Regions from separate parts of the Homo sapiens genome. Here all the other regions are linked to region 1. Evidence: promoter capture Hi-C in 16 types of primary human blood cells and fetal thymus (Javierre and others, 2016). All regions are on one chromosome and are shown on one strand. The core of a region is centred on a gene start or on the middle of the fragment in contact, and the rest is flanking DNA. Distances in the headings are between cores, read along the strand shown.

Evidence for each region. Contacts are between HindIII fragments. The CHiCAGO score rates a contact against its expected background, and 5 or more counts as called.
Region 2: a fragment that was not itself captured here is called in contact with the fragment with the promoter of BOD1L1 in region 1 in 1 of 17 cell types (naive CD8 T cells); the score reaches 5.1 in naive CD8 T cells.
Region 3: a contact is called between the fragment with the promoter of CC2D2A here and the fragment with the promoter of BOD1L1 in region 1, in 9 of 17 cell types (monocytes, M0 macrophages, total B cells and 6 more). The highest score is 13.4, in monocytes.
Region 4: a contact is called between a fragment that was not itself captured here and the fragment with the promoter of BOD1L1 in region 1, in 3 of 17 cell types (naive B cells, total B cells and monocytes). The highest score is 6.7, in naive B cells.
Region 5: a contact is called between a fragment that was not itself captured here and the fragment with the promoter of BOD1L1 in region 1, in 5 of 17 cell types (total B cells, fetal thymus, total CD8 T cells and 2 more). The highest score is 9.9, in total B cells.
Region 6: a contact is called between a fragment that was not itself captured here and the fragment with the promoter of BOD1L1 in region 1, in 1 of 17 cell types (total B cells). The highest score is 6.7, in total B cells.
Region 7: a fragment that was not itself captured here is called in contact with the fragment with the promoter of BOD1L1 in region 1 in 1 of 17 cell types (naive CD8 T cells); the score reaches 5.8 in naive CD8 T cells.

Annotation. Positions count from the first base shown.
Region 1 is chr4:13,625,648-13,629,372 of GRCh38, forward strand. It overlaps BOD1L1 (biorientation of chromosomes in cell division 1 like 1), which reads right to left and starts at 2,078. Exons shown (of 26, transcript NM_148894.3): 1 at 1,698-2,078. The coding sequence starts at 1,940. It overlaps MIR5091 (microRNA 5091), which reads left to right and starts at 2,218; the gene lies at 2,218-2,310. RefSeq lists enhancers at 1,507-2,237, 2,075-2,234, 2,238-2,968 and a silencer at 1,735-1,934. The HindIII fragment of the contact is 7,220 bases long and covers 328-3,725 here.
Region 2 is chr4:15,598,574-15,602,298 of GRCh38, forward strand. CC2D2A (coiled-coil and C2 domain containing 2A) reads left to right here. Exons shown (of 37, transcript NM_001378615.1): 36 at 956-1,133; 37 at 2,664-2,979. The coding sequence ends at 2,852. Among named protein-coding and RNA genes, the nearest start is that of FBXL5, 55 kb to the right of the region's middle. The HindIII fragment of the contact is 1,414 bases long and covers 1,769-3,182 here.
Region 3 is chr4:15,468,024-15,471,748 of GRCh38, forward strand. CC2D2A (coiled-coil and C2 domain containing 2A) reads left to right here and starts at 1,859. Exons shown (of 37, transcript NM_001378615.1): 1 at 1,859-2,034. The HindIII fragment of the contact is 6,808 bases long and covers 1-3,725 here.
Region 4 is chr4:15,449,887-15,453,611 of GRCh38, forward strand. No RefSeq gene overlaps it. Among named protein-coding and RNA genes, the nearest start is that of CC2D2A, 18 kb to the right of the region's middle. The HindIII fragment of the contact is 2,320 bases long and covers 758-3,077 here.
Region 5 is chr4:15,400,034-15,403,758 of GRCh38, forward strand. All of the region lies in intron 1 of C1QTNF7-AS1 (C1QTNF7 antisense RNA 1), which reads right to left. It also overlaps a transcript of C1QTNF7 not described here. Among named protein-coding and RNA genes, the nearest start is that of C1QTNF7-AS1, 26 kb to the right of the region's middle. RefSeq lists enhancers at 1,067-1,186, 1,317-1,376. The HindIII fragment of the contact is 161 bases long and covers 1,809-1,969 here.
Region 6 is chr4:15,259,826-15,263,550 of GRCh38, forward strand. It overlaps C1QTNF7-AS1 (C1QTNF7 antisense RNA 1), which reads right to left. Exons shown (of 6, transcript NR_125911.1): 2 at 3,572-3,639. Among named protein-coding and RNA genes, the nearest start is that of C1QTNF7-AS1, 170 kb to the right of the region's middle. The HindIII fragment of the contact is 157 bases long and covers 1,651-1,807 here.
Region 7 is chr4:15,236,243-15,239,967 of GRCh38, forward strand. The region is part of intron 2 of C1QTNF7-AS1 (C1QTNF7 antisense RNA 1); the gene reads right to left. Among named protein-coding and RNA genes, the nearest start is that of C1QTNF7-AS1, 190 kb to the right of the region's middle. The HindIII fragment of the contact is 8,921 bases long and covers 1-3,725 here.

The sequences.
Region 1 (3,725 bases), core at 828-3,327:
CGAATAACTAACTTTATTTGATAACATTTACCTGGCCATGTCTAACCTTTTCCCATTAAATAACAACAAAAATAATAAAGGCAATAGAAATTATTTCTAAAAGGTAGCAGTGCATATTCCTGAAGACAAAAGTAAAAAAAACTATACTTCCTAAATAGATGAACACTCCCAAGTGAATTGAATTCTCTGTGGTGCAAAACCTCCAATATCCCGAAAAACCACGTTTTACATAGTGGGCCCAGTATGAGTCCTTATAAAGGAAGATGTACCAGGATATTCAAGAGTTTCCCCAGAAGACATAGTGGAACTGTGTGCAGTTCACCTGAAAGCTTTAGAAGAAACTGTGGATGTTGTAAACATGCATTTCTCAAAGATACAAAGCTCCTCAGAACAACTAAACATACTATGAGAAAACCCTCGACCGGGCGCGGTGGCTCATGCCTACTGGGCGAATCACGAGGTCAGGAGATCGAGACCATCCTGGCCAACACGGTGAAACCTTGTGTCTACTAAAAATACAAAAATTAGCAGGGCGTGGTGGCACGCGCTTGTAATCCCAGCTACTTGGGAGGCTGAGACAGGAGAGTCGCTTGAACCCGGGAGGCGGAGGTTGCAGTGAGCCGAGATCACGCCATTGCATTCCAGCCTGGCGACAGGGCGAGACTCTGTCTCAAAAAAAAAAAAAAAAAAAAAAAAGGAAACCCTCATTTCATCAAAACTCCAATCCAATGGACCCAACCAGATTTAACAAGCAGACAAAAACAACCCCTACAAACCAGTTAATTTTCCAACATGCTTTCTGCTTCCAGAATTCTAGACTGTACTGTGGTTTTCCATCCATCTCACTGACTGCTCTTTCCTGGTGTCTTTGGCTAATTCTTTGCCAATCCAGCTAAGTTTACTTGTTCCTGCTAATGTCCCTTTCACTCTGACATTTGGTACAAAATCCCTTCCCCTTTCCAGCCTCTCTTTCTGGACAGGGAACCTTGTTGCTGTCCTTTCCCTTCTCTACATTACTCTCCTGAATCTGCTCTCTTTCCTGTCCTTTCTCCACTTCAGTATCTGCTGTCACCTCTCCTGCATCTTTTCTCCACTGAATGACTCGGTTCTCTCTACCCCACCTTCCTGTCCCTTCTTACCTTAGAATGGTGACATGGCCTAAGTTACCTAAATCAGGCAATCACTGCTAGAAACAATACTAAAGTCCTGTCTCAGGTTTGCCTCCTTATCTTTGCGCTCCCACCCCCACGATGTCCAGCAAAGCATATTACACATAACTTGATTCAATTACCATTTAGTCATTTCTCCAAAGGATAAAGGCCCTTACCGCCCAGAAACCTTCAAGAAAGAAGGCAAACATAACTTCGATACAAAGTAAAATCATCAGATATGAGAATGAATACAAAACTGGCTACTGTTAGCGCCACTGTTTCCAAACCAGTTCCTGTAAGAACAATGCCTTAGTCTTGCTCATCAGACCGGGGTAATCACTGTGCCGAAACCATGACTGGCACGTAGTAGGTACTTAAACACTAGTCGGTAAAACGAACCAAAGGACACGCTAAGGAATGAACACTCTGTGCTTTGCACAGTCCGTGGCACACAGCTGCAGCTCCAAGAGGAAGCCACTGCAAAAGAAGCGCGCCCTTGGGTCCTCCCCTTCCCTCGCAGACCCCCAAACCCGGCGCGCTCCTAACCTTGGTGTCCACGTCGGCCAGGCAGTCTCTGCGGAACTGGTCGAAGAGCCCCTGGCTCTTGAGGTGGTTCACGATCATGGCCACGAGCTGCGGGTCCCCGGCGCCCGCACCCGCGCCGCCCGCCCCGCCCGCGCCGGGGCCAGCCCCGGGGCCCGGCGGCGGCGGCGGTGGCTGCGGCTGCGGCTGCGGCGGGGGAGGCGGCGGCGCCGGAGGAGGCGGCTGCGGCTGTGGGTTGGTGGCCATGGTGGCCTGTGCCGGGGAGGGCAAGGGCCCTGACCGGCGGACGATCCTGGGAGGCGGCGGCTGCACTGGTCCCGCCGCCTGAGGGAAGCCAACGGGATGTTGTTACGGAACCAGCGGATCCAGAGCAACCCCGGAAGTGAAAGGGAACTGGGGGAAAGGAGGAAAAGACGGTGACAACATTGACGAAAGTCCGGCGACGGAGGCCGCGAAGAGCCAGTTTCGACCGTCGCCGGGCGCAAGCGCCCTCGCGAGGCCGAGCTGCGCCGGAAGTGGCGGCGACTGTGGCGACGGAGACGACAAGACTGTGCTGGTCGCGGGTTGTGGGGTTTAGGTCACCGGCAGGGGTCTGGAGTCCCTGGAGGTTAGGGCTTCGACCCGCGCGACACCTGGGGCCCTAGGTCTGAGCGGGGGCAGTGCGTTTCTGGCCCCGCTTCATCCGCGACGGCATTTTAGGCCTGCCTCTCTTGCTCCAGTTTCCCGGAGCAGTGCATAGAGATCCATAGACATTTGTAATGCGAACCCTACGTGGATCTGCTCATTCTAACTTCGCCCAACCCTCTTCGTTCTTAGCCTGTGATCCTGCACTATTCTTGTCCCAGCAGGTAGCTCCAAGTTCCTTCTGTCTCTCTTCTGCCTGCACATACCATTTCCCCGTGGGGGTCCCTTGTTTCTGGCAGTGTGCCTGTGGATTAGATCCGATCCCTCCAGCCCGTTCTTCCTATCTGTGAAGACAAATCGACAGGCTTTTATTTTTAGGAGATTTGCTATTGATTACTATGATTATAGCAGGTAAAACATCTATAGCACATATTATGTACCAAGCGTGGCGTTAAGTGCTTTTACATGTATTAACGCATTTAATCTTTGGACAAACACTAAGAGCTAGGTCTGATTACTGTCCCCAGTTTGCAAATCAGGGAACCAAGGCTCAGATAAATTAAGTATGTTGAGTAAGATTACACAGCTAGCAAATCACCTGCTTTTGGACTGCATCATCTTTGAAATTATTATTAGTACGTGGTCAAAGCAACATAAATATTAGAAAATTTCATAATTACTAAATAGTGTGTGTAACTTTATTGAAAAATGCATATTGTTGCTTTTTAAAGTTCCTACATCTGTGGCTGAATATATCTTATTAGTAGGAAAAGAAGGGTTGAGCATCAATTCTATTCCTATTTGTAATTTTTATAGCTGTGTGCCCTGAGAAACCTTGTTCATATAAACAAGTACTGTGCCTAGGAATGGAAGAGTTTTGTTGTAGCAATATCATTCAATTCTTGACCTCAAAAAATTAGATTTGATTATCTATGAGCTGACTTCAATTAGGCCCTCCTTCTATTTTATGGAAAGCAAAGAGCTGAAAACCACCTGGCTTGCCAAAGGATTTGTTTACTTAATCCTTATTTTTTCACTCTTTCAGATTCTGGGAAATATACCAGATAGGTTTTACCAAGATACCAAATGACTATGAATTAGACCTGATTTTTTCAATGAGGTGTACCTTTCACCTGATATACTGAAAGTTTGGAGAATATCTAAACATTTTTCATTTTCATAAATAGTTTTGGATAAGATTTATTTTTGTTATCAGGTGGTTAAATTATGTTTTTGTCAAAATTTGCAACTGCAGATTTAGCTCATTCAAGTTCAAAATCTTTGTCACTGGGCACAGTGTCTCACGCCTGTAATCCTAGCACTTTGGGAGGCTGAGGCGGGAGGATCGGTTGAGTCCAGAGTTCAAGACCAGCCTGGGCAACATGGCAAGACCCCACCTCTACAAAA
Region 2 (3,725 bases), core at 1,226-3,725, 2.0 Mb after region 1:
GTAGCTATCTTCCTTCATTCCATGCTTAAACTTCACACCCTATGAACCCAATACCTGTACTTATCACAAACAGTTTCAATGATGTTGGTATTTTAAAGGCAGTTTTAAGGCAATTTAGAAAAAAATTAATCATCATGGATAGAATTCACTATTCATGATGTGAATAAATCACGAGGCACTAAGAGCTCCACAAATATTTGAGGCTTTCAACATAAGCCCTACTTCTTACGCCTGTGTCTAATTCATCTGTCTGTATATATACTACCAATGAGTATAGTCATAACATTTCAAAAAAACATTTCATGGCCAAGCGCAGTGACTCACACTTGTAATCTCAACACTTTGGGAGGCCAAGGCAGGCGGATCACTTGAGCCCAAGAATTTGAGACCAGCCTGGGCAACATAGCAAGACCTTGTCTCTATAAAAAAGAAAAAAAAATTAGCCAGACATAATGGCATGCACCTGTGGTCCCAGCTACCAAAGAGGCTGAGGTGGGAGGTTCACTTGAGCCCGAGAGTTGAGGATGCAGTGAGCTGTGATTGTACCACTTCAATCCAGCCTGGGCAACAGAGCAAGATCCTGCCTTTAAAAAAAATTAGTAATAATAAACTTTTGCTGCATGTATTGAATTCAGCTATCCCCAAGTCATTCAGTACTCCCTCTTCTGTGTTACATTTCAAGCATCTGTTATAGCTCTTAGGATACACATACTTTCTATTTATAGGACTATTTCCCATCTCAACTCATATACAACCCTTAAGGACAGGACTGCATGTTAATTTTGAATCCCCAGGGAGTAGCCCATTATTAGACATTAACTATGCCTGGATAATCACAACTCCATCAACAAAAATATAGTTATACAATCATCTGAATCCCCACTACATACTACATACATTTTTTAACAAGGGAAAAGTGAGTCACCAAAAAATGGAATTTATGTTTTGTGAACAGGATTGAAAAAATACTAAAAGAAAAAATCATGGACTGGAGGCCACGCCATCTGACTCGGTGGAATAGGTATTGTACCTCTACTCTGCGTCACTTCTTGCCTCTGTTAGAAAAAAGTCAAGGAGAAGATGTAGAAGATGACCACAGAGCAGAACTGCTAAAACAGCTGGGAGACTACAGGGTAAGTTACAAATGGATCCTAAACTGACTGTGGATTTCCTTGTTTCAAATTGGAAATTAGCCAATAATAGGTTTCTGGAATCAAAAGACCCACGTTGCTCCCAGAAGTACATATTTAAAGCAGCATAAACTAAAAACTGTGATCATAAGTTTTAAACCTCAATAATCATGAAATAGCAAAATACCACCATTTTTCATATAAGTATCCCATGAAAAATACCTTTTATGAAATACATTTACGTATCAAAAAAATGAAAACATCTGGCTAAATCATGTTAGACACAACTGTGCATAAGGATCAAAACACTCTAGAGCAGTTTTTTTAAGGATATGGTTTTATACTGATTGCTTTTCATTGCTAAGAAAGGTGGTTATTAATAGACGATATACCCTCTTTACTGCCTGCTGCTATGTTCACATGCTATAGCTGGATAATAAAACCTACAAAGCAGGCTCGTAACTAAAACTTAACAGTAAGCCTTACTAGCTAAACAGTGTGAAGGTCAAATTAGATCACTCACTGAGTAAAATTTATCCTTTAACTTATAAGGCAGGTTCTCAGCCAGGATATTTTCAGTTCAAGTGTCAGAAAACTCAAAAAGGCTTGAGCAATAGAGAATCTACTGGCTTAAGTAAAGCTTAGAGGGTAGCTATCAGGGCTGTCCCACTCTTTTGCAAGTCCTCCCATTCTGCCCTCCTCTTCCGTATGATGGCATCATCCTGAGACTGGGTTTCCTCATGGAAGCAAATGCTGGAACACTTACAGAATTCACATCTGCGCACATACTACCCAAAGCAGGAGAACATCACGTGCCATTATTCCTAACAAGTTTCCCAAGATTCCCTCTGAGACTCCCTTTGATCACTTGCCCATCCCCGTGGATCAATCATTGTAGCCAAGGGGACGAAAATTATTGTCGGGCGCTATGGCTCACACCTGTAACCCCAGCACTTTGGGAGGCTGAGGCAGCGGATCGCTTGAGCCCTGGAGTTCAAGATCAGCCTTGGCAGCATGGCAAAACTCCATCTCTACAAAAAATACAAAAAGTAGCCAGGATGGTGGCACTTGCCTGCAGTCCCAGCTACTCAGGAGGCTAAAGTGGGGGGACCATTTGAGCCCAGCAGGAGGCCGAGGCTGCAGTGGTGAGCCATGATCATGCCACTGCAGTCTAGCATGGACAACAGTCAGACCTGTCTCAAAAAAAAAAAAAAAAAAGAAAAAAGAAATGTATTTGTTAGTTTAACCTATGTATCTGGAATTACAATGGTTACGATGCATACTAGGTACTTTCAAAAAGAGGGAACAGTGATGGAGTGACTAACAGGTGGCTTATACACCTATATGCAAGGAAAACAAAATGGATATTAAGCAGCTCTCGATTTTCTGTATTGCTAATAAAAAGCTGAGTAGAAAAACACAAGCAAATAACTGAGATCCAGAACACTTATCTTAATTGCATACATTTACGTAGGAAAAAATGTATTAAATCTTCAAACTTCACTAATGACTACAAATGTTTTTTCCCTTCAGTTCTCTGGATTTCCTCTTCACATGCCTTATTCTGAAGTGAAGCCTTTAATTGACGCTGTGTATAGTACTGGAGTACATAATATTGATGTTCCTAATGTTGAATTTGCTTTAGCTGTATACATACACCCATACCCCAAAAATGTTTTGTCTGTTTGGATCTATGTTGCCTCTCTTATACGCAACAGGTAATTTTTTTCACTGTACTTTCTGTATCATGTAAAAACTACACTTAGGATATGAGAAAATTTTAAATTATATGCATCACATCAGAAGAACATATTATTGGCAAATAATAAAATTATCAACTGTTTTCAAACTGTGCAAAGTGTTCTATTTAGCAGTCTGCCTTGTGTCTGCTACTTGACCCTGAAATTCAATTGAGACTACCCACAGTACGATATATTATGAGCTTCCTGCCTCTATTCCTTTGTACTTACTTACCTTTTGCTTGGGCAAATATTAACAGCAATGGAATGAAAGTGAGAGAAACTTAACAAGTTTTACCTTAGAGCAAGGTAAAGCTTTAAAGAGAGCATCATTAGAGCCTTTAGAGTTCCTCCTCCTTTGCTGTGTTTAATTCAAATATTAGTTGAAATAAAAAGCAGTAGTGAGTTATATTCCATCAAATGATTCTTCATCTTTAGAAAACACTAAGACAATTTGCCTGAACTGAATGTTTACCAGTTTTTATTGCTACTCCTCCTCCTCTCTCCAAATAAACAAAACAAATAAATATCCAAGACTGCAAGATTACTTCATCTTCCACAGGTTTGCATGTACAGGCATACCTCGGAGATAGTGTGCACTTGGTTCCAGACCATTGCAATAAAGTGAATACTGCAATAAAATGAGTCACACCAATTTTTTTGGTTTCCCAGTGCAAAGTTATGTTTACACTGTATTATAGTGTATTAAGCGTGCAAAAGCATTATCTCAAAAATGTACATACCTTTAATTTAAAAATACTTTATTGTTCAAAAGTGCTAATGATCATCTGAGCCTGCAGTAAGTTGTAATTTTTTGCTGATGGAGGGTCTTGCCTCGATGTTGCTGGCTGATTAG
Region 3 (3,725 bases), core at 609-3,108, 1.8 Mb after region 1:
ATTAGATCTCACTCTAATGACTTCATTTTAATGTGATTACCTCTGTAAATACCCTATCTCCAAATAAGGTCCCATTCTGAGATACTGAGGTTAGGACTTCAGCATCTTTGGGGATGAGAGAGAACACAATTCAGCTATAACACTGCTGCCCCAAATCCTGGCACAGTAAATCAGCTCATTTCCTCATATTCATGCCTACGTGCACACCCCATCATACACAGACACACACACACATACATACACGTACAGAGACACAAACACAAATACATTGACACATACACATGCATGCAGGCTGTGTCAAAAAATGTACTCTGGATTTGTTTTAATTAGGTATGGTAAGACACACAGACACAAACATGATTGGCACAAAAGAAGAAGTTTATACTTAACAGATCCCTAGAAACAAGAAGCATGGTGTCTTGGTTCGTTTTCTGTTGTTGTAACAGAATACACAGACTGGGCAATTTATAATGAACAGAAATTTATTTTTCACAGTTCTGGTGGCTGGGAAGTCCAAGATCAAGGGGCTGGCATCCTGCAAGGGTCTTCTTGCTGCACCATCCTATGGTGCAAGGCAAGAAAACATGAGAGCAAGAAAGAGAAAGAGAGAAAACGAGGCCAAATTCATTCTTTTATAAGGAATCCACTCCTGCAATAATGGCATTAATGCATTTATGAGGGCAGAGCCCTACAGCCTAATTGCCTCTCATTAGGTGCCACCTCCCGACACCATTGTGTTAGGGATTAAGTTTCCAATACATGCTTTTGGGAAGACACATTCAAATCATAGAACATGGCATGCCACACAGGACCACATAGGGAAGAACCAATGTTGGTCAGAAGGCAGAACGGAGACAGCAGAGTACAGCACAGAGCCTTTACTAGGGTTTTCCCAGGAAGGAATAGGTGAAGCAGGGTAGGGTGCTGCATAAATTTAGGAGTGGATAGCTTGAATAATCGTGGTGTTCTCTGGGCTATAGTGGTCTGGTATCTGGACCTGGGGTGACTTAGGACAGGAGGAATATTGGCTTAGTGTGTGAGAGTTTGATAATGGAGATGGTTGTGTGGGCTCTGGATTGGTTGGCTTGTATATCAAAGGAGACTTTGCATATTTCAGGGGAATCATTTGCTATCTCTAGAAATTAGCTAACATAGGAGAATCAGTTTCTCCAGGATCAAGGCTCCAAATGCCAGAGCATCAAGAATACAGAAAATAAGAAGATACAGTCAATACACATACACACAAACATACACACACCATACACACAGACACAAATACACACAAACACATGTGCACATACACACTAGTCTATTGGAGTGTGTTTCCTTGGCTCCATTCATTCTATTACTCTTCCAGCTACTTTGCCTCCTACCTCTCCCTCTTTTTTTTTTTCCAACTTTTTTGAGCCATAACATTTATATCCGTTTTCAGGAATTGCAGTGGGATTCAGAGAATAGGCAAAGATTAAACTTGTGCGTTCAACCTTCCACTTTTAACTGGAAAACACTCAAGTGCAACATTTGTTGGTACTCTGCAGCACCTCCACAGAGCTTTTGCTGCTGCCACGTTAGACAGCTTCACCATGTAATGACGACCTTTTAAGATTCTAAATCCCCCCACCTCTGAGCCTGTTCTTCATTGGAAATGCAAGACGACCGGATGACATGAGGGAGGGGCAGCTCTTAAGGCTTGACCTAATTTCCAGTGCTGCTCATGTTGATTTCTCTCCGTCCTTCTACTGCAGGCTGTGCGTCTCTGCTTACCCAGCATGCTTGTACTCCACTACTGGAAGTAGCCTGTCACTTTAAAGGAAAAAAAAAAAAGCTACCGAGTGACCTTCCTTAGGAACGGGTTGCTAAGCTGGTGTTTTTGCTCCAAGACATGGCTGCAGCTTCCCAGGGAGGAGCCCAGGGGCATCTCCAACACTCAGCCTTTCCCTCCGGACCCTTTTAAAAGATTCAACAGCACCGTCTCTCTCCACTTCCATCCTAGAATGCAGAATCTGCAAAGTGCCTTTTGTAAAGTTTCTTAAGGTAAATCAGTCCCTAACCGGACTTTAGGCTGCAACAGTGATTTCCTGTTTTCAGTTACCCGGCTTGAAGTTCAGCCTCTCCAGGATACCGTGAGACTGGATTTAATGAATTGTAAATTTAGGGGCTCTCATCGTTATTTATGTTTTTACTTTCTGAAATGGGAACATAGACCATTACTTGGCAGCTTTGATTTGAGCTGCTATCTGGTATCTGGTTTGCAGGAAATGTAAGTCCAGTTCATCACAAGTCCTGAGTGAAAATGCTCTCTGACCAAAGCTCTGTGAAACATTAGCTGCGTGTTGCATTTATGGGCCTTTTAGTTCAAACTGGCTTAAGGGGAGAAGCACTAATTACTGCAAAATACACTTTTCTTGGTATGAGACAGAGAAAGGGCTACTAACCACAGTGCTAAGAGTTGCTGTGCTTTCCAAAGACTTCAAGAAAATGTACTGGCTACAACTTAAGCTGATTGTTTGTTTCCCTTCATTGCAAAGAGGTGGTATGAAAAGCTAATAAAGTCAAATAAGAAATATGTTTGCTACTGCATTTTCATATAACCTTTTCTGCAAATAAATTCAGCACCAGCATGAAATCTCTCTCTCTCTCTCTCTCTCTCTCTCTCTCTCTCTCTCTATATATATATATATATATATATATATATATATATATATATATATCCTAGAGCTCACTTATAGAGTCATTCATTCAAACATTTATGGAGCATCAACAATGCACCAGGCAATGAATTTAAGTTTAGAGTGTGCAAACATAAATTAGACTAGGTCAGAAGCTCAGAATTTGCTGGGAAAACAGACCTATAAACACATGATAAGAGTACAATGAGCTAAGTGCCATAAGAGATTTATAAAAACACTGAGAGGACAGTGGGATGACATCCAGGGAGGGGCTTCCAGTACTTAGCACATCATGTAAATGCACTGGTCATATATCACGTAACACAGCTCAAATATGGTACTCATGTGTACTCTTCAAGGCCAGTGTACATTATATCGAGCTGATTAAATGATTCTATAAAGCTATTGGTCACTAACCTTATGCTAAGGGAAACTGCAGCTGGAATAACTTGTAGAATAAGATAATGTATTCCAAAACAATGTATGTGGCACCTCCCCAGGTGTCCAAGCTCCAGGAGGGAACAGAAAAATGTTCTCAGGGTGTGAGGAAGAAAATACTCATGGGTAGAAGTGCAGGAGGTTTCAGAAGCACCATAAATGGAAACAGCAAGGCAACTGCCCTGGGCCTGGCTGAAGGGAGGGAGACATGAAACATGAGTTATGGTAGCTGGGGGTTGAAGATTGGAGCTGAAGGTGGGTGGGCTTGAACATCACCTAAGGTCTTTCTCATGACTCCTCTTCTATCCCCCAAGCTCTTTTCCCTCCTCATTCCTTTTTTCCACTTTCCCTCCCCACAATCACTTTTTCTTAGTAACAAAACCTACCAATATTGAGAGCCCAGCCTGTGCTAGGCATTTTACTACACACATTTCATCATTTAGCCCTTATAAATTAATCATCCTTCAAGGTAGGAAGTATGATTGCAATGTTGCAGACAAAAAAAAAAAAAACGTGTCTCAGAGAAGGGAGGGCATTGTTCCAAGATCACACAGCTAATAAATAAAGCTGAAGTTGGAACTCAGGTCCACATATTCCTTGGCAAAGAAATATGTGGAC
Region 4 (3,725 bases), core at 668-3,167, 1.8 Mb after region 1:
AGCCAGAAGCTATTATCCTCAGCAAACTAACATGGAACAGAAAACCAAATACCACACATTCTCACTTATAAGTGGGAGCTAAATGATGAGAACTCATGAACACAAAAAAGGGAAGAACAGACACTGGGGTCTACTTGAGGGTGGAAGGTGAGAGGAGGGAGAGGATCAGAAAAGATAATTATTGGGTACTGGGCTTAATACATAGGTGATGAAATAATCTGTACAACAGACCCCCGTGACACGAGGTTACCTATGTAACAAACCTTTACATGTATCCCCCAACCTAAAATAAAAGCATTTAAAAAAAAAAAAAAAAGGAGCCCGTAAATCCAATTCATTCCTCAGCCAACACATAATGACAGCCCTGAAAGGAGAGATTAAAAAGCTACTCTCAGTTGTTAACTACATTGCTGACCTCATGTTTTCCTTCTTGTTTCCTTGAGAGATCACCAGTCAGTGTCTCATGATACCAGCAGTTACCATTTACTGTGTGCCTAGTAAATGGCACCATACTGGATCCTTTCAGCATGGTACTTTATTTTATCCTCAGGAAAAGCCCCTGTCAGTGGCGCATTCTTCTAACCTCTAGAGAGAATTCAGTACCACTCTCACCTTCTTCCTCTCTTAAAAAAAAAAAAAAAAAAAAAACACCCACACACAGAAAAGAAAAGAAAAGAAAAGAAAAGAAAAGAAAAGAAAAGAAAAGAAAAGAAAAGAAAAGAAAGAAAAGTAGCATTTGTATGGACGTTGGGATGGAAGCTTCCCAAGTTCTGGGATGCCGCTTCAGCATCAGAATGGAGAAGTTCAAAGACTCTCAAGGCCACATACCAAGTTCTCTAGGGGTTCTTCTCTCTCCAGGATGTGCCTATCAGTGTTCAGGCAGAAGGCAGCATAACACTTTCAAAAGGATTTCACTATGGAAGGTCAAATGAAAGAACTGTATTAAAGGTGCAGGTGGGGTGAAAAGAACCATGCAGGGATGCTGAAGTATCCAAGGACTAGCAACAGCAGGAATGCTTCACCATCCCAAATCCTGAAAAGGAGGAGAGGCAGTGGTGGTTGCAAAGTGCAGTGAAGAACTGGAGACTTGGCAGAGGGACCAGCCTACAGGAACTACACCTGCAGAAGAGCTCAGCCACTGCCAGAAGTAGGGAAGAAGCCAGGACTGTGAATCCCCTGACCACCCTCTTCTACCTTTCAGTCTCCTATTTATACCCCTCACTGGTCAAAGCCCATGACTCCAGGTGCCCAGATAGTCTTGGTGATGCAGTGCACAGAGATGAACTTCTTGGGCAAAACTCAGAACAGACAGGGATAGAAGATGGATGGGAGCCAGGAGAGAGGGTAGGAGCAACGGAAATCAACCAGCACAGGGCTCCCCTCCCAGATCTCTTCCTTCTCTAGTCTCTCTAAAACTCCACACAGCTTATGCAATAAAACTGGCTTCCTGTTTTTACTGGTTCCTTGAATGCATACAGCAGAAGGAACATTTTTCCAGAGCTGTGTAATTTATGCACAAGGAACCCTTGAGTCTCAGATGTGGCCCAGCTCCACTTACAAAAAAATTGCATGGGATCTTGGAGTGAAGTCCTTGGACTGATGAACAGAGGGTTTTTGCCACAGTGTCCCTCCTAAGTCCCTCTCCTAAACTTGCAACAGCAACAAACAGCTGGTGGAGATTTAGGAGTTCAAGATTCTAACCTAGTAGCTTTCCAGCTCATCATGAGTTAAATACTCTTCTTACCCCTTTAGAGGTAACAGTACTGAGGCTCAGAGCAATTGAGCAATTTGCCCATGACAAGCCTTAATAAATGTGGGATATTCTAGCTCTGCCCATCCACCTCCAATGCCCATGCCCTGTCATGAGCACACACACATGCACTCCCCTGCCTCTCAAGGCCTCTTCTTTAAGACATGTTTTCACAGCAAGATCATTGCATTATGGAGGAAATGCAATATCCACAATTATCTTCCTTTGATCCTAGCAAACATCATTTTCCTCTGACCTTAGCTGGGAGCTAAGCCTGTCACAATCATGACTGGCTTACTCATGATCAAAATATTCAGTGCGGCCAGAACATGCAGCTCGGCAAACTCTAAGGAGTCCCAAATATAACAACCTACTTTGCTCTGCCCAAGGAACAGAGACTGGCCCCAAAGGATTGATGCTGACCCTCTGCATTTGGTTTAGTTCCACAAAAGGAACCTAGGCAATCTTTTAGCATCATCGTTGTACTATCATGCTTAGAAAAATCCAGGCAGTCTAAATTCCTCTATACACACTACACATTCTTGTCAAGATTAATCCTAACAGAAGCCAGGAGCAAGTAGGACCACACATTCCACAGGCCTTGTGTGTTCCCTAATGTGGTTTGTAGATCAGCCTGAGACATGCCAAATATATTGGGTAACTGAAGACTCTTTTGAAAGAAAAGAAAACATAAAATTTGCAGTGCTGTACCATGGTTTTCAAGAGACTCATTGATCCCTTTTTATTTCTGCTCTGCATCACTGTTTCCTAAATTTGGTAGGAATCTTGCACTTTGAGCCAGATCCTTCTTTTTTTAAGGGCTGTCCTGTGCATCATAGGACATTAGCAGCATCCCTGGCCTCTGCCCACTAGATGCTAGTAGCATCTCCACCCAACCACGTGAGTCATCACAAGCAACAATATCTCCCATCATTGCCAAATGTCTCCTGGGGGGTCAAAATTGAGAACCACTTGTGAACCATATCTGTACAGTCTTGTCATGGTGAGAGAGTCTACACAGCCCCCCAAATCTACTTTTTCCAACTGACCTTTATTTACAGAAATGACCCCATAGCTGCTCCTCATTTCAGGTATGATATCTCTTCCCTTGTGAGAATCCCAAGTTAAAGAGACTCCATCCTGGAAGGTGTACAGGAAGAGCAAGAAACTGTGCCCTCATCCAAATTCTCTTTTACTATAGCCAGGATTTTTTAAAATGTTTTCTAAGATACAAAAATCACCAAGTCTCCTATTTCTAAGAATTTACTCCAAGAAAATAATTAATAATGTGTGCAAAGGTTTAATTGCAGAAAGAGCCCTGCAGCAAAGCTTGCAATATGGAAAATTGAGAAATAGCCTCAACATGGGTGAAATGAGCTGTGATACACTCATCCAATGAAACAGAGTCATAAAAAATGATGAGGATGCCCCACCAGGCACAAGAGCTTGCACCTGTAGTTCCAGCTGCTGGGGAGGACTGCTTGAGCTCAGGAGTTGAGGCCAGTCTGGGCAACATAGGGAAACCCTGTCTTTAAAAAAAAGAGGATGGAAATGTATTGGCACCATAAGATATTCACAAAATATTAACTAAACAAAGTAGATGACTGAGGAATATTTTCAGTACTCATTTCATTTTTAAAGTCTGTTTGCCCATATGCATAGAAAAAGTCTAAATTAAAATATTAATGGGGAATTTTAAATCTCTACTCTTTTGACCTTTATTTTTAATTTTTACAATAAACATTGTACTCATTTTACATAAAATATTTTATGTATGCTCTTAGGCTAGTTGCATATTATTTTGTTTCCAAAAATTGCAGAGAAAATGTCTAAGGAGAGAGAAATAAAACTCTTAGGAGTTGAAGTGTAAAACACGATATCATTCTTAAAGTTTCCTGGTGGCGTACCTGGATGTCTATTCCAGAGGATTTTTTAAAGCAAGATTACCACCAAGTAATACTAGTTTATATGTTTT
Region 5 (3,725 bases), core at 639-3,138, 1.8 Mb after region 1:
TGGCTTCTCTGGTTCTGGGGAAGATACATCAATGTGATTGTAACACACAAGCTAGATTTTAGGGAAATGACACTGCAACTAAGATATCGTCCATTGTTGCTAGGCCCCACAGGAATTCAGAGATGCAAGGTTTTATTCTTCAAAAATGTCTTGGATTGTACACACATATTTTAATTGTTGAGAGAATAAACAACTTGACTGAAAAAAGAAAAAAGAAAACATTTACAGTCTGTATATTGCAAAAAGATCTAAAGGCAGCAGCTCCCACGGCTCTTTGAGGGATATAGATGATCAGTGTAATCTGTCATAAATCAGCCAAGTATGTTCAGTGGCAGTAAATAATGCTGTCAACAGCATTAAATTTGATGCACAAGAAGACACATTTGTATGAAAGGGAGTGGAGAGAAACAGAAAAGGATTAAGTTCCATTGTTTTGTTTTCTGGTGAACACAAGAAATCTGAAACCGTCTGCAACAAGAAACCCTAACTTTGGAAATTGTACAATATTTTCCCTCCAACATTCAAGGAGACCATTGAAGCTGGTCAGTGTCCTGGCTGGATGATGAACGGTCTGCTCTGATCCATACCTTCCAGCCAGACCTCATGACCTTCTCAATTCCCAGGCTTCCTAATGTTTGTTATAGAAATTATTGGCTTTTCTTGCCCTGTATTAATCAAAGAGGCTAAGTTAGGCAGCACTAACCAACAAATCCCAAATCTCAGTGGCTTCAAACAGCAAAAAGGTTTATGTACTGATGCATAAATACAAAAGCCTTTATGTTACATGCTCACTATGGAGCAATCAGGGTCTTTGTTCATTGTGGGCCCTCAGGACCCAGCCACCATCACCATTTCCCGATACCCCCATCACAGCATAAGGCTTCAGATTTCACCATGGAGGGGAAAGGGGACATGTAGGTAATTCATGTTTTCTGCCCACACAATTCTTCTAGCCAGGCCTAATTTTAGAGACGAGGAAGGGTGATCCTGCCAAGTGTCTTAGAGGAGGGCAGAACCGGAAATACTAGCGGGCGCACCCCAGTGCTGCATACCACACATAGAAGAAGTCAGAATAGTTCCTTTAGAGAGCTATTTCCATGTTGCACAATAGCGAGGGGGAAGGGAGTGGCAAATAAATGAGGAGGAACTGGGAAAACATATCATTTTTGTTGTGTAGGGATAGTCTCTGATGAGGAGACCATGTCTGGGGTGGAAAGGAATGAGGAGCGTGTGGGGAGGAGCGACCTTGCAGCCACAACAAAATCTGCATCTTTAAGTGCTTCAACCTGAGCCACACTGGCCTCCCGGACACCAAAACCTGAGGGGGATGTTTCATCAAGGCCAGCTGAGTAGGAAGAACAGAAACCACAAACCTACTGGGGCCTGGTTAACTGAATGCTGCAAGCCCCCTCTGCACTGTTGTTGGCCAAATAGCTGGAGGCATCTCATCACATTTGAATGACACCAGTACCAAAGCCAGGCAAAGGTCCCAGCATGGGTATTGCAAGAGGGGGGAAACAAGTAGAAAAATCAAAAACAGAAGGCAGATACAAAATTACATACATCATAAATGATCCACCACCAGAGAACACAGAGATCAGTTCTCTTCAGTCTTAAATGAATCAACATCGTAGTTTCTCAGAAAAGAAAGTTTAAAAACGAAATAGAAATGATCAGAAAAGAAATAAGATGAAGACCAGTTAAAAAGTAGCAGAGCTCAGGAAATCAATGAAATAAAACAATTATAGACATGAAAGTCAACTTCAAAGTCAACAGAAAACAGATAAATGCTATTGAAAGCACAGGAAAGCTTCAGATACCACACGAAATGAGAAAGAAAGAAACAGTGTGATAAAAATGATTACAGACAAGACAACACAAACTGAAGCAAAAGGGAGGCTGACATACCCAAATTGGTATTTTGAACAGAAAAAAAGGAACAGGAAAAAACTTAAAGTCAATTCAAGAAAGCTTTTTGAGTTTAAAAAAGCTTTCTCTAAATGTAAAGGGAACACCATATCCCAGGAAAAATAAGCAAGATTGGTAACATCAAGATATGGACTGTGAAAATTCAAGGAAAAATGTCTTGTATGTGTTGTTTAGAGAACAGATATCACAAGCGGAGCCTGGCAGGTTACTTTAGTCTCCACCACAATCCTCAACACCAGAAAATAGCAGAGCAACCTCTACCAAGTTCTAAGGGGACAAGGTGACCCAAGAGGTTTTTTTCTTTCACTCAGCCAAGCTATGCTATAACTATAAAAGAAACAGGCAGGCATTCCTAAACATGTAAGAATTCAAGGACTGTATTAACAAAGCCCTTCTTGAAAAGTATTTGATGATGAAATCTAGCATAGCAAGACATGAATCAAAATTAAACACCCAGCAATGGAGAATCCACCAAATAAGGACATGAGCAAGTATTAGATCTTTTACAAAACCGAATCAAGACTAAGCAACAGTGGGAATTATTTGACAGAAAAGAATATAAATGTTATAATTCCAGGCAATCCAAAAATAATAATGTAACTGAAAAAAATTGGGAGGCTAGGGGTGGAAGGGAAAAATGAAATAAATAAAACCCTCCTCTTTCATGGCAGAAGATAAATAAATATTGTATAAAGTTAAAACATACAAAGTTTTAAAAAGCAAAATGACACTAAATTCTGGAATTGTTTTTCATAGTTGTCATCTAACCTTAGAAATATCTGAAGTTCAGCAATTCCTTCAGTTGGATTCTAGTTTATTTTTATTCTGATACATTCAAGTAACCTCACATTCAATCATTTTTTATAAAAATAGCATGCGTAGTATGAACTTATTTTTGTAAAATTATATCCAGCAAGGCTTCTGGCTAAACCTGTGCCTCAGAGAATCTGGAATGATGTTCATCAAATGTTGGCAAAATGATTTCTGAGAGGTGAAAGTTTGTTTTGCTTTGCTTTTTTCTGTTTTTTTTTTTTTTAATAAAATTCCTTGAAATTTTTATGATAAGCAGATACATTTTCACAAAATCACCACAATCTCCCCCAAATAATCACTCTCTACAGATCATGTCAGCTACTTAGGTGCCTGAAAATCTGCCTGTCTCTGAGTCCCATGCTTCCCCAAAATACTATGCAAGCCCAGCAGTCGGCTCTGCTCAGAAGAATGTGCCCAGGCAGCGCAGCCCTTCCCTCTTGGAGTCAGCAATCAATTTTGCTCTGTGTTATTCATTTTGGATGTCCAATGTTGGTCTCATTCTGTCTCATCCTCTTACTCTAGTAATGCTGTATTAGTTTCCCAGGACTGCTTTAGCAAATTACCACAACCTGGGTGGTTTACATCAGAAATTTATTCTCTTGCAGGTCTGGAGATCAAAAATCCAAAATCAAGGCTTTGACAGGGTTTGTTCCTTCTGGAGGCTCTGCAAGGTCATTCATCCTCTGCCTCTCTCCTGGCTTCTGGTGGCTACAGGCAATCCTTGGGGTTTCTGGGATCGTAGGCACAACATTCCCATGTCTGCCTCTGTCATCACCTCACCTTCTTTTCTGTCTCTTTTCCCCTTCTTTTCTCAGGATACATTGGATTTAGGGTGCACCCTAATCCAGGATGATCTCATCTCAAGATCCTTAATTACATCTACATAAACCCTATTTCAAATTAAGTTTGCATTCACAGGTTTGGGGTAGACACGTCTTTGAGGGGGCTACTATTCAGCCCACTACAAATGGTGTGATTTCTGA
Region 6 (3,725 bases), core at 479-2,978, 1.6 Mb after region 1:
TCTGAATTTGTTTGAAGGTCAAAGAGCTCATATTCAGGTCCCAACAGCATATTTTAAAGATAGTCTTGAATCCAGTTGATCTTTCACAGAACCTTCTTTCCCAGACACTCCAAGTCATAAACTGCTCTTTCCCTCATCTGAATCCCAAAGTTGTTCTGCTTGATAATATTTTTGTATTTCATATATGGGGAGAGTAGCCACTTCCTGAATGTTTAACAGCAATTTGGTAATAAATATTTCAGGGAGTGACATCAACAAAATGGTGCAGTAGGAGATTCCAGCCCTCATCCCACCATTCTTTGAGCTGAATGTTTGTGTCCTGCCCACCTCCCCCAATACCAAATTCATACATTGAAATCCTGTCCCCCAAGGTGATAGTATTAGAAAGTGGAGCGTTTAGGAAGAGATTAGATCATGAGGGCGGAGCCTCAATATTTGTATTAGAGCCCTTATAAAAGAGATTCCAGATGGATAATTCATCTCATTTACCATGTGATGACACAAGAAGAAGTAGGCAGTCTGCCATCCAGAAGGCAACTCTCACCAGGAGCTGGGCCATGCCGAGACCCTGATATCAGACTTCTAGTCTCAAAAACTGTGAGAATTAAATTTCTGTTGTTTACAAGCCACCCAGCTTATGGTATAGGCATACCTGTTTTACTGCCCTTTGCTTTATTGAGCTTGGCAGATATTACCTTTTCCACAAATTAAAGGTTTGTGACAATCCTGCATCGAACAAGTTTATCTGTCATTTTTCCAACAGCACATTCTCACTTCATGTCACTATGTCGTATATTGGTAATTCTCACAATATTTCAAACTTTTTCATTATTATTATATTTGTATGGTGATATGTGATTAGTGATCTTTGATGTTAGCATTGCAATTGATTGGGAGCAGCACAAATCATACTCATATACGATTGCAAACTTAATCGATAAATGTTGTGTGTGCACGGGCTGCTCCACTGACCAGTAGTTCCCCCATTTATGTTTCTGCTCTTGAGTGTCTCTATTCCCTGAGACACAATGATACTGAAATTAGGCCAATTAATAACCCAGCATGGCCTCAAGTGTCCAAGTGAAAGGAAGAGTCACATGTCGAAACAATTAGCTTAGTGAATAAGGCATGTCAAAAGCCAGGATAAGCCAAAAGCCCATGCCAAACAGCCTCAAGTTGTAAACACAAAGGAAAAGTTCTTGACGGAAATTCAAAGTGCACTCCAGTGAACACAAATGATAAGAAAGCGAGACAGCCTTATTGTTGATATGGAGAAAGTTTTGGTGATCTTAATAGAAGATCAAACCAGCCAAAACATTCCCTTAAGCCAAAGGCTAATCCAGAGCAAAGTCCTAACTCTCTTCAATTCTCTGAAGACTGAAGGAACTGTAGAAAAACATTGTAAGCTAGCAGAGGTTGGTTCATGAGGTTTAAGGAAAGAAGTTATTTTCATAACAAAATTGCAATATTAAACAGCAATTGCTGAAGGAGAAATTGCAGCAAGTTATCCAGAAGATCTAGCTGAGAATATTTACAAAGGTGGCTACACTAAACAACAGATATTTAATATTAATAAAACAGCCTTATATTAGAAGAAGATGCTATCTAAGACTTTGATAGCTAGACAGGAGAAGTCATGCCTGATTTCAAAGCTTTAATTAAAGGACAATCTGACTCTCTTATTAGAGGCTAATGCAGCTAGTGACTTTAAGTTGAAGCCAATGCTCATTTACCATTCTGAAAGTCCTAGGGCCAGTAAGAATTATGCCAAATCTACTCTCCATGTGCTCTATAAATAAAACAACAAAGCTTGGATTTCAGCATATCTGTTTATATCACAGTTTACTGAATATGTTAGAACCACTGTTGAGACCTACTGCTTAGAAAAAGAAAAGATATTCTTTTCAAAATATTACTGCATATTAGCAACGTACCTGATCACCCAAGAGCTCTGATGGAAATGTACAAGAAGATTAATGTTGTTTTTATACCTGCTCACTCAGAATCCTTTCTGCTGCCCATGGATCAAGGAGCAATTTTTACTCTCAAATATTATTTAAAAAGTACATTTATAAGGGTATGGCTACCATAGATGGTGATTCCTCTGATGAATCTGGGCAAAGTAAACTGAAAACTTGGAAAGGATTCACCATGCTAGCTGCCATTAAATTCATTTTATGGGAGGATGTCTAAATATCAGCATTAGCAGAAGTTTGGAAGAAGTTTATTTCAGCTCTCATGGATGACTTTGAGGGGTTTAGGACTTCAACAGAAGAAGCATATGCAGATGTGGCAGAAATAACAGGAGAACTAGAATTTAAAATGAAGCCTCAAGACGTGACTGAATTGCGCAGTCTCATAATAAAACTTGAAAGGGTATGAAGTTGCACTTATAGTCTATGGTCATACCACCCTGAACGTGCCCAGTCTCATCCATGTTGCATTTATGAATGAACAAAGAAAGTGCTTCTTGAAATGGAATCTACTTTTGGTGAAGATGCTGTGAACATTGTTTAAATGACAACAAAAAATGTAAAATATACATATGTTTAGTTGATAAAGCAGCAACAGAGTTTGAGAGGGTTGATTCCAATTTTGGAAAAAGTTCTACTGTGGGTAAAATGCCATCAAACAGCATTGCATGCTACAGGGAAATCTTTTCTGGAAATAAGTCAATTAATGTGACAAACTTTATTGTTGTCTTATTTTAAGAAATTTCCAGTGTCAACCCAACCTCCAGCAATCACCACCTTGATGAGTCAGCAGCCATCAACACAGAGGCAAGGCCCTCTACCAGCAAAAAGATTATGACTCACTGAAGGCACAGATGACTGTTAGCAATTTTTAGCAACACAGTATTTTTTGTTTGTTTTGAGTTTTTTTATTTTATATTTTTTATTTTTGAAACAGGGTCTCTATCACCCAAGCTGGAATGCAGTGGCATAATCATGGCTCACTGCAGCCTCAATCTCCCAGACTCAGGTGATCCTCCCACCTCAGTCTCCTGAACAGCTGGGACTACAGGCATGTGCCACCACACCTGGCTAATTTTTTGTAATTTTCTTTTTCTTTGTAGAGATGGTGTTTTGCTGTGTTTTTCAGCCTGGAATCAAACTCCTAGGCTCAAGCAGTCTTCCCACCTCAGCCTTCCAAAGTGCTGGGATTACAGGCATAAGCCACAGTACTTTATTGTGCCCAGTCAGTAAGGTATCTTTTAATGAGGGTACGTATATTGTTATTTAGACATAATGCTATTTTGCACTTAATTTACTGCAGTATAGTATAAACATAACTTTTATATGCACCGAAAGACCATAACCATTGTGTGACTCACTTTCTTGCAATATTCACTTTAATGCAGTGCTCTGGAATACAACCTGCAATATCTCTGAGGTATGTCTGTATTTTGTTATAGCAGCCCAAACAAACAGATACTCCACATAAACAATAACAACATTCATGGATAAAAATAGCTCTGGGAGAATTGTAAAGTAAAATTAAGAAGCTAGAGCAACACAGTCAAGCACTAAAACTGAGATGGCCACATATAAAAGTGTAGGAAGTATCTTACCTGTGTCACCTTGTCCCCTAGCTGGCACAACTCAGTAACAAAAGGAATCCCCTTGGATGTGGCTTTTCCTTATAGAGGAAAATAAAAATAGAAAACCCCTATCAGCTCTCTCTGCCAAAGACTCCCACAGTCTTCAACAACACAGATCCCAGCT
Region 7 (3,725 bases), core at 491-2,990, 1.6 Mb after region 1:
CCTGGCATGTAGCTCCTAAAACCCTTGCAATGTGCAGAGTGATAAGGTGTCTTTTTGTGTGCTAATAAGATGGCTGGTGGCTGGAGGCTGGAGGCCCCTGCCTAGCCTCAGGAAAGACCAAGGCATAAGTAGAAAGCTGGAACTTTCAGTACCACCCTCAGACCCGTGAGAAGGGGAAAGGGGCTGGAGAATAAATTCAGTTGCCAATGGCCAATGATTGAATCAGTCATGCCCATAAAATGGAACTTCCGTGAAAACTGCTAAATGACGGGGCCCAGAGAGCTTCGAGGTTGGTGAACGCATAGAGGTACTGGGAGGGTGGTGCACTCAGATGTGTGCCTCCCCATACTTTGCCCCATGCACCTCTTCCATTGGCTGTTTCTGAGTTTGTAGCCTTTATCATAAGCCAGAGGCCAGGTGCGGTGGCTCACACCCGTAATCCCAGCACTTTGGGAGGCCGAGGCGGGCGGATCACGAGGTCAGGAGTTCAAGACCAGCCTTGCCAATATGGTGAAACCCCGTCTCTACTAAAAATACAAAAATTAGCTGGGCATCGTGGCGTGCACCTGTAATCCCAGCTACTCAGGAGGGTGAGGCAGGAGAATCACTTGAACCCAGGAGGTGGAGGTTGCAGTGAGCAGAGATCGTGACACTGCACTCCAGCCTGGGCGACAGAGCGAGACTCCGTCTCAAAAAAAAAAAAATCGAGAAAACATAAACGAAATGTTTCCCTGGGTTTTGTGAGCTGTTCTGCAAATTATTAAACCTGAGAAGGGGGTCATGGGAACCCCCGATGTATAGCCTATTAGAAGTATAGAGAGCTCAGGACTTGTGACTAGTGTCTGAAGTGGGAGCTGTCTTATGGGACTGAGCTCTAACTAAGAGGTGTATGCTAACTCTTGGTAGTTGGCAAAAAAATTGAATTGAAATGTAGGGGACCCAGCTGGTGTCTGGAGAATTGGAGAATTGGTAGATATAAGGGGAAAAAATACATCTTTGGAATGAAAGTGTTGTGATAAAAATAGCTCAGTGACCAAAAGATGAAAGGAAATTGAAATTGATGGACACATGGCATATTTTTACTACTAAATGTATTGAACAACTACTGCCACAGGAGGGGTCTGTGACATTTTCTTAGAACAAGTTAATTTTGGGTTTTTTGTTCCTGAGAATGTGTTGATATTCTAAACAGTTTATTACTCAGAAAACCATTGTTCTTTCACGTAGGGGTTAAGAAAATGTAAGTTAGTGATCAAGCAAAGATCAGGAATTAGGTGAGATGGAAAGAGGGAGACCCATTTTGCTCATTACTTGAAGATCTTGTTAAAGTTTGCTTTATAGATGGCATCTAAAAGGGTGTGTTTGGGGATATAGTTTCCTGACGCACGTAGAAACGGTGTTTGGATTCAAACTCCACGAATGGCACTACCAAGCCAGTTCTGGAGAAGGCAGAGCTGCCACTGGCTCCAAGCAGAAAATATGGGGCCAGGAACAGAACATTTAGTCAAAAGGGCTTAGGAGCCAGGAAAATTCAGAATCAAAATAGTCTTAAAGGCAGTGACCAGGAGAAGCCAGGGAATTCTGCCATGAACATTAATTTCCTCTATTCTCTGAATGTTCATTTCATTGAGCACCTTCAGCATGCCAGTTTCCATGTTGGAGAGTACAATGATGAGGGAAACTCCATCCCTGCCTGCAAGTTGGAAATGCTTGTGGGTGGACACTGGCCACGTGGTGTGTGGGTAGGCTTGACTGACCTAAGAGTCTACGGTTAAAGGGTGAAGCAGAGTTCTGACAAATGTCAGCTTTAGCAGCCACTAAGATGCCTCCACCCACTCAAGGCAAAATACACTCCTGATACTCTTGTCTTCCTTTGTAAGAATTCCCAAGTCACACCATACCCAGTTCACATCATGGAAACACTGAACTGGGGAATTTTAGAATTGAAAGAGGTTGTGCAAATTACTTAGTCCAGCCTTTTTGTTTTTCATCAGGGGAGAAGGAAAAACTGACCTGTATTGTATGTAGATGAGCCCCAAAGACTCACTTGGACACCAAGATCAGGCAGGCTGTCAGAACAGGACAACTACCATTTGGAGCCAATGGCAGCTCTGCCTTCTCCAGAACTGGCCTTGATAGTGCCATTCATGGAGTTTGAATCCAAACACCGCTTCTACGTGCTTCAGGAAACTATATCCCCAAACACACCCTTTTAGATGCCACCTAAAAAGCAAACTTTAACAAGATCTATGCAGCATGGTAATGGCTAAAACTATTTCATTCAGCAAGCATCTATTGCAATCTCAATACAAGAGCCATTCACCTTCCTTGACAATTGCCTTCACATTTCTCTGATGTCTTCTCCTTCAAACATGCCACTAGCCTGTTTCACTGATTTCTACCCAGTGATCTCAGTTCTCCACCCTGGAGCTCTTATGAAATTCATCTGATCCTTCTTCCATTTTAATACATGTAACGAAAACTTATTAAACATCTATTGCATCTGTTAGAGACTCAGCAAGACAAAGAAAGCATATTAGGATGAAGTCCCTGAGAAACATTTAATAAATGATACACATATTTCCAAAGGTTTGGGTGAGGTTAAAATAAAACAATGATTTGGTGCATTAACTACGGCTAGCCACGGAGGGGAGCCATTACCACCTCTACCACTCCAAAGGGGCAGGAAGAAGGAGAAGTTAACTCTAGGAGACAGCCCAGACAGAATCTGTGGCTTGGGATAGAAGGATTCCACCTTACACACTGCAGCCTGCTAACCTGCATGGGACGGAGCAAAAGGATGAAAACAGACCTCCCTCTTCTGCCCTTTCATCTCCCACCTGCACCTCTTGTTGGCAGAACCTAACCAGAAGCCAGAGGTCATAGGAATCTATGGATGCAGTCAATGCAGGTCAGCTTCCCACGTCCAGGGCAGGACGAAGACTGGAGTGTTTGGGTTGGGGGACAAATGGAGAACACCCAGCCCTCACACATGCCAGGCACTTAACAGAGGAGTTAAGAAAACAGACTTGGTCCTTGATTGCATAGACTGTAAAGGGCATTGGTTGAGAGAGGAAATAGACAAGTACACTTACTAAAAAACTCTGCTAAATGTATGAAGGAAAGACTGGACTCTATGAGAGGTAATAATAGGGGATCAATTTTAGACTGGACGTTCAAAGGTCTTTCCGTGGATGCAGCATTTATGCTGAGATCTGTCGGACGAGAAGGAGCCAGCCAGGTGAACCAGGGGAAGAGGAGCATCCCAGACAGAAGAAGAGTGTGGTCAAAGACCCTTGGGACAGGGCAGCTCTTCAGATATTTGATTGTTTGAACTTGATTTGAATTTGTCTGAAATATACATCGGTTATTTCCTATGGGTTGCCCCCGAAAGGGCCCAGATTGAATGGCAAGGGCAGAGTCAGGAGGCCTGATCCACCAGCCCTGCTCTGGCCCTCATTGGCGAGAGGCGTTGCCCAAGTCCCTGGGTCTCTCCTGTCATGCTTTATCTATAAAATGAAGATGTTGGCTTGTTGGCTTCTGAAGTTGCTTTCAGATCTGAAATCTAGTGTTGGTCACAGACTTTATTTATCTTTTTAAAGATGCTTTTTGACACTTCCCAAAGTTCTATTTCTGCTAAGTGAACGCCCAAGAGCCAGTTACATTTTCTTCAAGTCTTCAGATGAATGGCAGTTGAATGAGATCTGCAATGAGCCGAGGCTGAA